Linked DNA regions of Homo sapiens: region 1 is linked to region 2. Evidence: promoter capture Hi-C in 16 types of primary human blood cells and fetal thymus (Javierre and others, 2016). All regions are on one chromosome and are shown on one strand. The core of a region is centred on a gene start or on the middle of the fragment in contact, and the rest is flanking DNA. Distances in the headings are between cores, read along the strand shown.

What was found. Contacts are between HindIII fragments. The CHiCAGO score rates a contact against its expected background, and 5 or more counts as called.
Region 1: a fragment that was not itself captured here is called in contact with the fragment with the promoter of PDXP in region 2 in 1 of 17 cell types (fetal thymus); the score reaches 7.6 in fetal thymus.

The regions. Positions count from the first base shown.
Region 1 is chr22:36,775,505-36,778,486 of GRCh38, forward strand. IFT27 (intraflagellar transport 27) reads right to left here and starts at 615. Exons shown (of 7, transcript NM_001177701.3): 1 at 170-615. The coding sequence starts at 203. RefSeq lists silencers at 177-236, 367-416 and enhancers at 315-878, 657-916, 1,444-2,007. The HindIII fragment of the contact is 727 bases long and covers 888-1,614 here.
Region 2 is chr22:37,657,368-37,660,459 of GRCh38, forward strand. It overlaps PDXP (pyridoxal phosphatase), which reads left to right and starts at 1,356. Exons shown (of 2, transcript NM_020315.5): 1 at 1,356-1,989. The coding sequence starts at 1,416. PDXP-DT (PDXP divergent transcript) reads right to left here and starts at 1,010. Exons shown (of 6, transcript NR_109952.1): 1 at 888-1,010. RefSeq lists enhancers at 913-982, 993-1,042, 1,231-1,732, 2,559-3,070, 3,071-3,092 and silencers at 1,233-1,542, 1,743-1,852. The HindIII fragment of the contact is 9,798 bases long and covers 1,007-3,092 here.

The DNA.
Region 1 (2,982 bases), core at 1-2,500, 880 kb before region 2:
TCATTCTTCCACGCCTAACGTAATTTACTGTATCAGTAATTGCAGTAACTCGCCTTTGGGAGAGAGAAAGGAAAAGGTAGGCAATTTAGGTGAACAAAAGCTCTGGATGAATTATGAAGGCTCTGGACTCCAGAGACCACCGTATTCAAGCGCAAGTTTTCAGACTCACCTGCCAGGATGCATTTGGCTGCCAGCTTCACCATGGTAACCAACACTCCCGCGAGCCGTACCCAGAGGACAAGAGCGGCTGCTAGAGACGCGAGTGGGTGGGCTTCGGGCCCTGGGCTGGCCTGGGACGGGAAGGTGGGGAGGGGAGGGCTGATCTCAAGGGTCAGTGGCCGCGACGGGACTGGGGATGACCGAGCCCGGCCCTTCTGGGCCGGGGGCGGATATCGGGCGCTGGGGGCGGGTGGGCAGGGGAGGGCTCCAGGTGGGCCCGGCTCGAGGCCTGACACGGCAGTCTGAAAAGGTGCAAGCGAGCGGACACGGCCTGTGCTCCCCGCCCAGCCCCTCAGCACAGCCCTACCCAGAGGGTTCAAGGAAGGACGATCCGGCTCTCCTCCGATCACAAGTACCGGGCCGGATGCACTCTCCAAGCAACCATAGCCCACCTGCCCCGCCTCCTCCTCCTCCTCGCTGACCCTCGATTGGTTGCCGCCAAAAGCTCCCACCCTCAAGGTCTCACAAAAATCCAATGGGAGTAGAGAGCTGGGATAACAGCCTTTTCTTGAGATGCAATTCGTAGAGTTATCAGTTCTTCAAGTTCAGTCTGCTTGACGAGTGGTTGTAATTGACGTCAACCAGCTTTATATCCCGCCCCCGCTGCGCCTGAGAGTCCCGAGATAAAGAAGCCTCCACGTCAAGCAGTCAGAAGCGGTGACAAGAGAAGCTTTCTGATTGGTCAGAGTCTGGCTTGACCCATCTTCGGGAGGAATAGGGATTCGCCACTCCCGCTGTCCTTCTAGAAGTGGGTTCGCCTACAATGGGGCAGGTTGGGCTCTAGGCGGTCTGGAGCGGCGCCTGCGCAGTGGGCCAGGCCGCCGCTGTAGAGGTCGTTTTGACTTGCTCTGACTTCGCGCGGTTCTCGCGGCTTCCCCGGTTCCCGGGTTCTGCACAGCGCGGCTATTAAAGTGCATGGAGAAGTGCAGTCCTTGCCCCGCATCCCGCAGGGAAATCTCATTTTAAAAGCTCAAAGATGTAATGAGCGTTAAAATCTAAAATATGAAGGTGTTTTATTAAAGTGATGTTTGTGAACAAAGGGAGAACAAATACACTTTGATGGGGCTAAGCGGTGAGACTCGGAAACTTGAAGTCGTACTTTGCTCTTAGTCCATTTACTCTCTGCAAAAGGAGAATGCATCACTAACCTCGTTTGCCCGTCACCCAGGGAGGCTCTCTGTACGCGTTTACTGGGTTGGGGGTGCCTCTTGCACGTGGTTAGGGGGTCAGAGACCTAAATCCCTGGCCTGGACAAGTCACCTCATCCCTCAGCCTCAGGATGGGCCTAGGAGAACCCGCCTTGTGGGGTGGTTGTGGAGATGGAAGGAGAGAAACGTATGAGTGCCTGGGAGATAGTAGGTGCACACGTGATTGTGGGGTGGATGGGAGAGCGGAAGCTTATCTGGACAGATTTGGTTTATCATCACTGTCACTGGTTGGCCGAATGTACCCCTTGTTCTCACTTTCTCAGGGCCCCTGGGATTCTGATGGCTGATGCTGAAGGGAAGAGCAGCCCCTCAGCAAAGGTGCCTGTGCGAAAGTTCCACATTCCCTCCAGACACCTAGAACATTCCACCTCTCCGCCACTCTGCATCTCAGAGTGGCTGCCAGCCTTGTGTGGGGGAATAAACACACACACTCTATGAATGGCTGATGGTTTCAGCCCCGAATCCAGAGTAAATGCAAGTTGTCTGAGATGTTCTTTCCTTGGGATTCATTCCTGGCGCTACGGTAAAGGTCTGTTTCTCCTTCATTTCTCGTAACTGCTTTTCTTCTTTGGTGACATCACGTGAGTCTGTCTCAGACATCCAGGTCTGAGTGAGCAAAAAGCCTCTTTCTGGTCTTCTGCCTTCCTCTTGCCGGCTCCCCTCCAGGCCAACCTGTTCACCATGAGTGACCCTGTTAATCCCTTAAAGGACCCCATTTGGTGAGTCACCCTCCCGAGGCAGCTCCACGTAGCTAAGACACAGACACACATCAGGGCAGCCTCCGAAGCCTTGGTTCCTTCATTTTGCGAGGTGGGTAATGACAGAGCCGGAGCATAGCCATCTTGGACAAGCACTGCCATTTTAAAGTTCTCCTTGATCAAAAACGGCCTAAATTCAACCCAAAGGGCATCAGCCTAATGGCTAATGTCAGAATGACCATAAACCACAAGTGACATCTCCAATCAGAAACATTCCAACCCTAAGATAAACCCACCCCCCGACCAGAGACATGCAGCCCCAAGATAACCTCCCCTCTGGTCAGAGAGATGTCAGCCCCAACATAACCCACCCTCAGACCGGAGACATTCCAACCCCACAGTAAACTTCTCCTCCACACAGAAACATTCCAAGCCTGTGGTAAGCTCTCTTGCCCTAAACCCTTAAATACTCTTAGTCTGTAAGAGAGAGCACTCCTGACTGAAATTGGCCAGAAGCCCCTCTCAGGTTTATGCTCCAAAATAAACCTGTATTTAACTGTTGAGCCACTTTTCATGTTTCTTGCCTCTTTCTTTAACTCTTGCAGGTAATAATCACACCTCCCTCCCAGGGCTGTTCTCTGTTCCCCACCCACTGTCTCCCTTTTGTTGCTGCTACTCTGTGTGATTTTAGTCAGCATTATCATAAGAGCATTGTAGAACTTTCTAGAGAGATGGTAAACACTTGTATGGTGAATTCTGTCCCCCTTCACCTCATGGACCCAAGGGCCTTCTATACATTTCTGTGACTGAAGGTAAGCTGAATGAGAGTCACTAGGTTTAAGGTGGTCAGAGAATTT
Region 2 (3,092 bases), core at 106-2,605:
TTTTTTTTTTTTTTTTTTGTATTTTTAGTAGAGACGGGGTTTCACCGTAGCCAGGATGGTCTCGATCTCCTGACCTCGTGATCCGCCCACCTCAGCCTCCCAAAGTGCTGGGATTACAGGCGTGAGCCACCGAGCCCGGCCCTGAAGGTGAAATTTTTAAAGGAAAAAGGAACATTCAGGCCAAGGAGACTATCTATGCAAAGGCCAGGAGCAAAAGGCTTAGGGCACTTGGGGAATAGGAGCTAGTTGAGCTTCCAAGGTTGGGTACAAGGTACAGTTTTTCCCAAGTCGTTGGAGCTCCAGTTGCTCCTGGGGGTCACAGCCTTATCTGAAGTTGGCAGACAACTTCAAAACTGTGACACCACAGCTCACAATTCATTCATCCCCACACTGCAGACCAGTGGCTCCTCAAAGGTCCCAAGACCTGTGGTTGCTTCCAGATCACAAGGCCTCCTCCCTAAGACAGGGACCCAGCCAACCTGGGTCACCCCATTACTATTCTGGGCAATTGGCCACGACCATTCTGGATCCTGCCCTCCCGGGGCGTGCTGCAGTGACAGCCTACCAGCCTCTAGCCCAGTGCTTCCCTACCCTATCCTAGCTCACGGTAGAATCCCTGGAATTAAACCAACTAACCAACAAACCAAAAAATGCCCAGTCTTCACCCAAAACACTTACATGAGGATCTGTCCTGCTACACATCGGTGATTTCAAAAGCATTTGTCAAGACATTGAACTGTACATTTAAGATCTATGCATTTTACTATATGTAAATGATATCTGAAAATAAGTTCCCAGGGGACTCTAACGCAGTGTGAAGAACTACTGGTCTAGACCGAGGGCTCCAGCACCCAAGAAGACACCATGTGCCTCGTACCCCATCGTACACACACGTTTCTTGGGACTTCGCTCTGAACTGGAGCGTCCACGATTCAGGGGGCAATGAGATTCGACCCAAAGGCAGTTCATTTAACATCTGTTTTTCTCCCAGCAACCAGCTCGCCTAAGCTTCTGATTGGCTGGAGGGCACGGGGCCTTTCGCTTCGCGTTTTGTTTGTAGATTCTTATTGGTTAAGAAGAGCGTCAGTCTCCCACCGCGTAAGAGTGTAGTCGGCGTTGAAACTCGGCGGCGACTGGTCCAGCAGAACCAGGGACGGGGAGAAGGATCAAGCTAGCTCTTCATTGGTCCCTTCCCCTCGGTGTTGGCCACGAATCCGCCCCTCTCTCCAAGTTCCGTTAGCTCGCGGCTTCGCTCCTCTCCCAGACTCTCGCCCCCATTGGCTGCAGGCCACGCCGTCGCCCCGCCCCCCGGTCCTTCCAGCGCGCCAATTGGCGGCTGCGTGGAACGTGCCAGGGAGAGCGCGCCGTGCCCGCGGAGAGAGCGCGGCGCGGGAGGCCGGCGGCCGGCCGGCTGCATGGCGCGCTGCGAGAGGCTGCGCGGAGCGGCCCTGCGCGACGTGCTGGGCCGGGCGCAGGGGGTCCTGTTCGACTGTGACGGGGTGCTGTGGAACGGCGAGCGCGCCGTGCCGGGCGCCCCGGAGCTGCTGGAGCGGCTGGCGCGGGCCGGCAAGGCGGCTCTGTTTGTGAGCAACAACAGCCGGCGCGCGCGGCCCGAGCTGGCCCTGCGCTTCGCGCGCCTCGGCTTCGGGGGGCTGCGCGCCGAGCAGCTCTTCAGCTCCGCGCTGTGCGCCGCGCGCCTGCTGCGCCAGCGCCTGCCCGGGCCTCCGGACGCGCCGGGCGCCGTGTTCGTGCTGGGCGGCGAGGGGCTGCGCGCCGAGCTGCGCGCCGCGGGGCTGCGCCTGGCCGGGGACCCGAGCGCGGGGGACGGCGCGGCCCCGCGCGTGCGCGCCGTGCTTGTGGGCTACGACGAGCACTTCTCCTTCGCCAAGCTGAGGGAGGCGTGCGCGCACCTGCGCGACCCCGAGTGCCTACTCGTGGCCACCGACCGTGACCCATGGCACCCGCTGAGCGACGGCAGCCGGACCCCTGGTGAGCGCGGGAATGGCGGGGAAACTGAGATGGGGGCGACCTGCGCATTCGCCTCCACGCCTAAGGGTGAGGGGCGGGGAAGAGGCGTCTCCAGGTGGCAGGTGGGGAACAGGAGAGTGCGAGGGAGGCCCAGGGTGCTTTGGTGTGGGGGGCGGTTGATCCCTGTAGCCGTCATCCTGTGAGGCGCAGCAGTGTGGTCCCTGTTGGACAGATGAGGAAACTGAGGCCCTTTGTAACTTAGGGAGTTGGGCGGAATTCTGCCCTACCCACCATCGGGGTGGGGTTGGAGAGGAAGCCTGGGAGGATTGTCCCCCTGTGTGAGGGTTGAAACACCATTCCCAGAGGCAGGGTGTAGGCAGGTGTGTGGGGAGCAAAGGCGGTGGAGTTTGACCTCAGTTCCAGGTCCAGCTCCAGCTTCACAGCTGTGTAATCGTGTTCAGTTACATAACCTCCAAGCATCTCTGCCTGGGTGAGAAATGGCAGTGCTCAGCATGCCCGGTGACGGTGATCAGGGTGAGTGCCTGGCACATAGTAGGTGTTCAGATGATGTAAGTTGTAGCCAGAGTCCCCCATGTTACAGAGAACTTAATGAAACAGCTTTGTGTGTGTTCTTCTTTGGTTTCCAAATTACTCTGGAGATGGAAGTTATTGTCCCATTTCTCAAGTAAAGAGACTGAGGCAGCCGGATGCAGTGGCAACAGCCTGTAGTCCCAGCTACTCGAGAGGCTGAGGCGGGAGGATTGCTTGAGCCTAGGAGGTCAAGGCTGTAGCGTGCTATCATTGCATCTGTGAAAAGCCACTGTACTTCAGCATGGGCAACATAGTGAGACCTTATCTCTAAAAGAAGAGGAAAGAAACTGAGACTAAGAGAAGGGAAGTGAGCTGCCCAAGAACAGATATAGTGAGCCCCTCCACCTCCTGTGTCCCCACACACCTGCCTCCATCCTGCCTCTGGGAATTGGTGTTTCAGCCCTCACAAGTAGGGACAGTCCTCGCAGGCTTCCCCTCCAACCCTCCAACCGCACCCCAATGATGGGTGGGGCAGAATTCTGCCAGCAACTCTCTGGCAGAGTGATAGAGCGCGGGAACCTGAATTTGGCCTT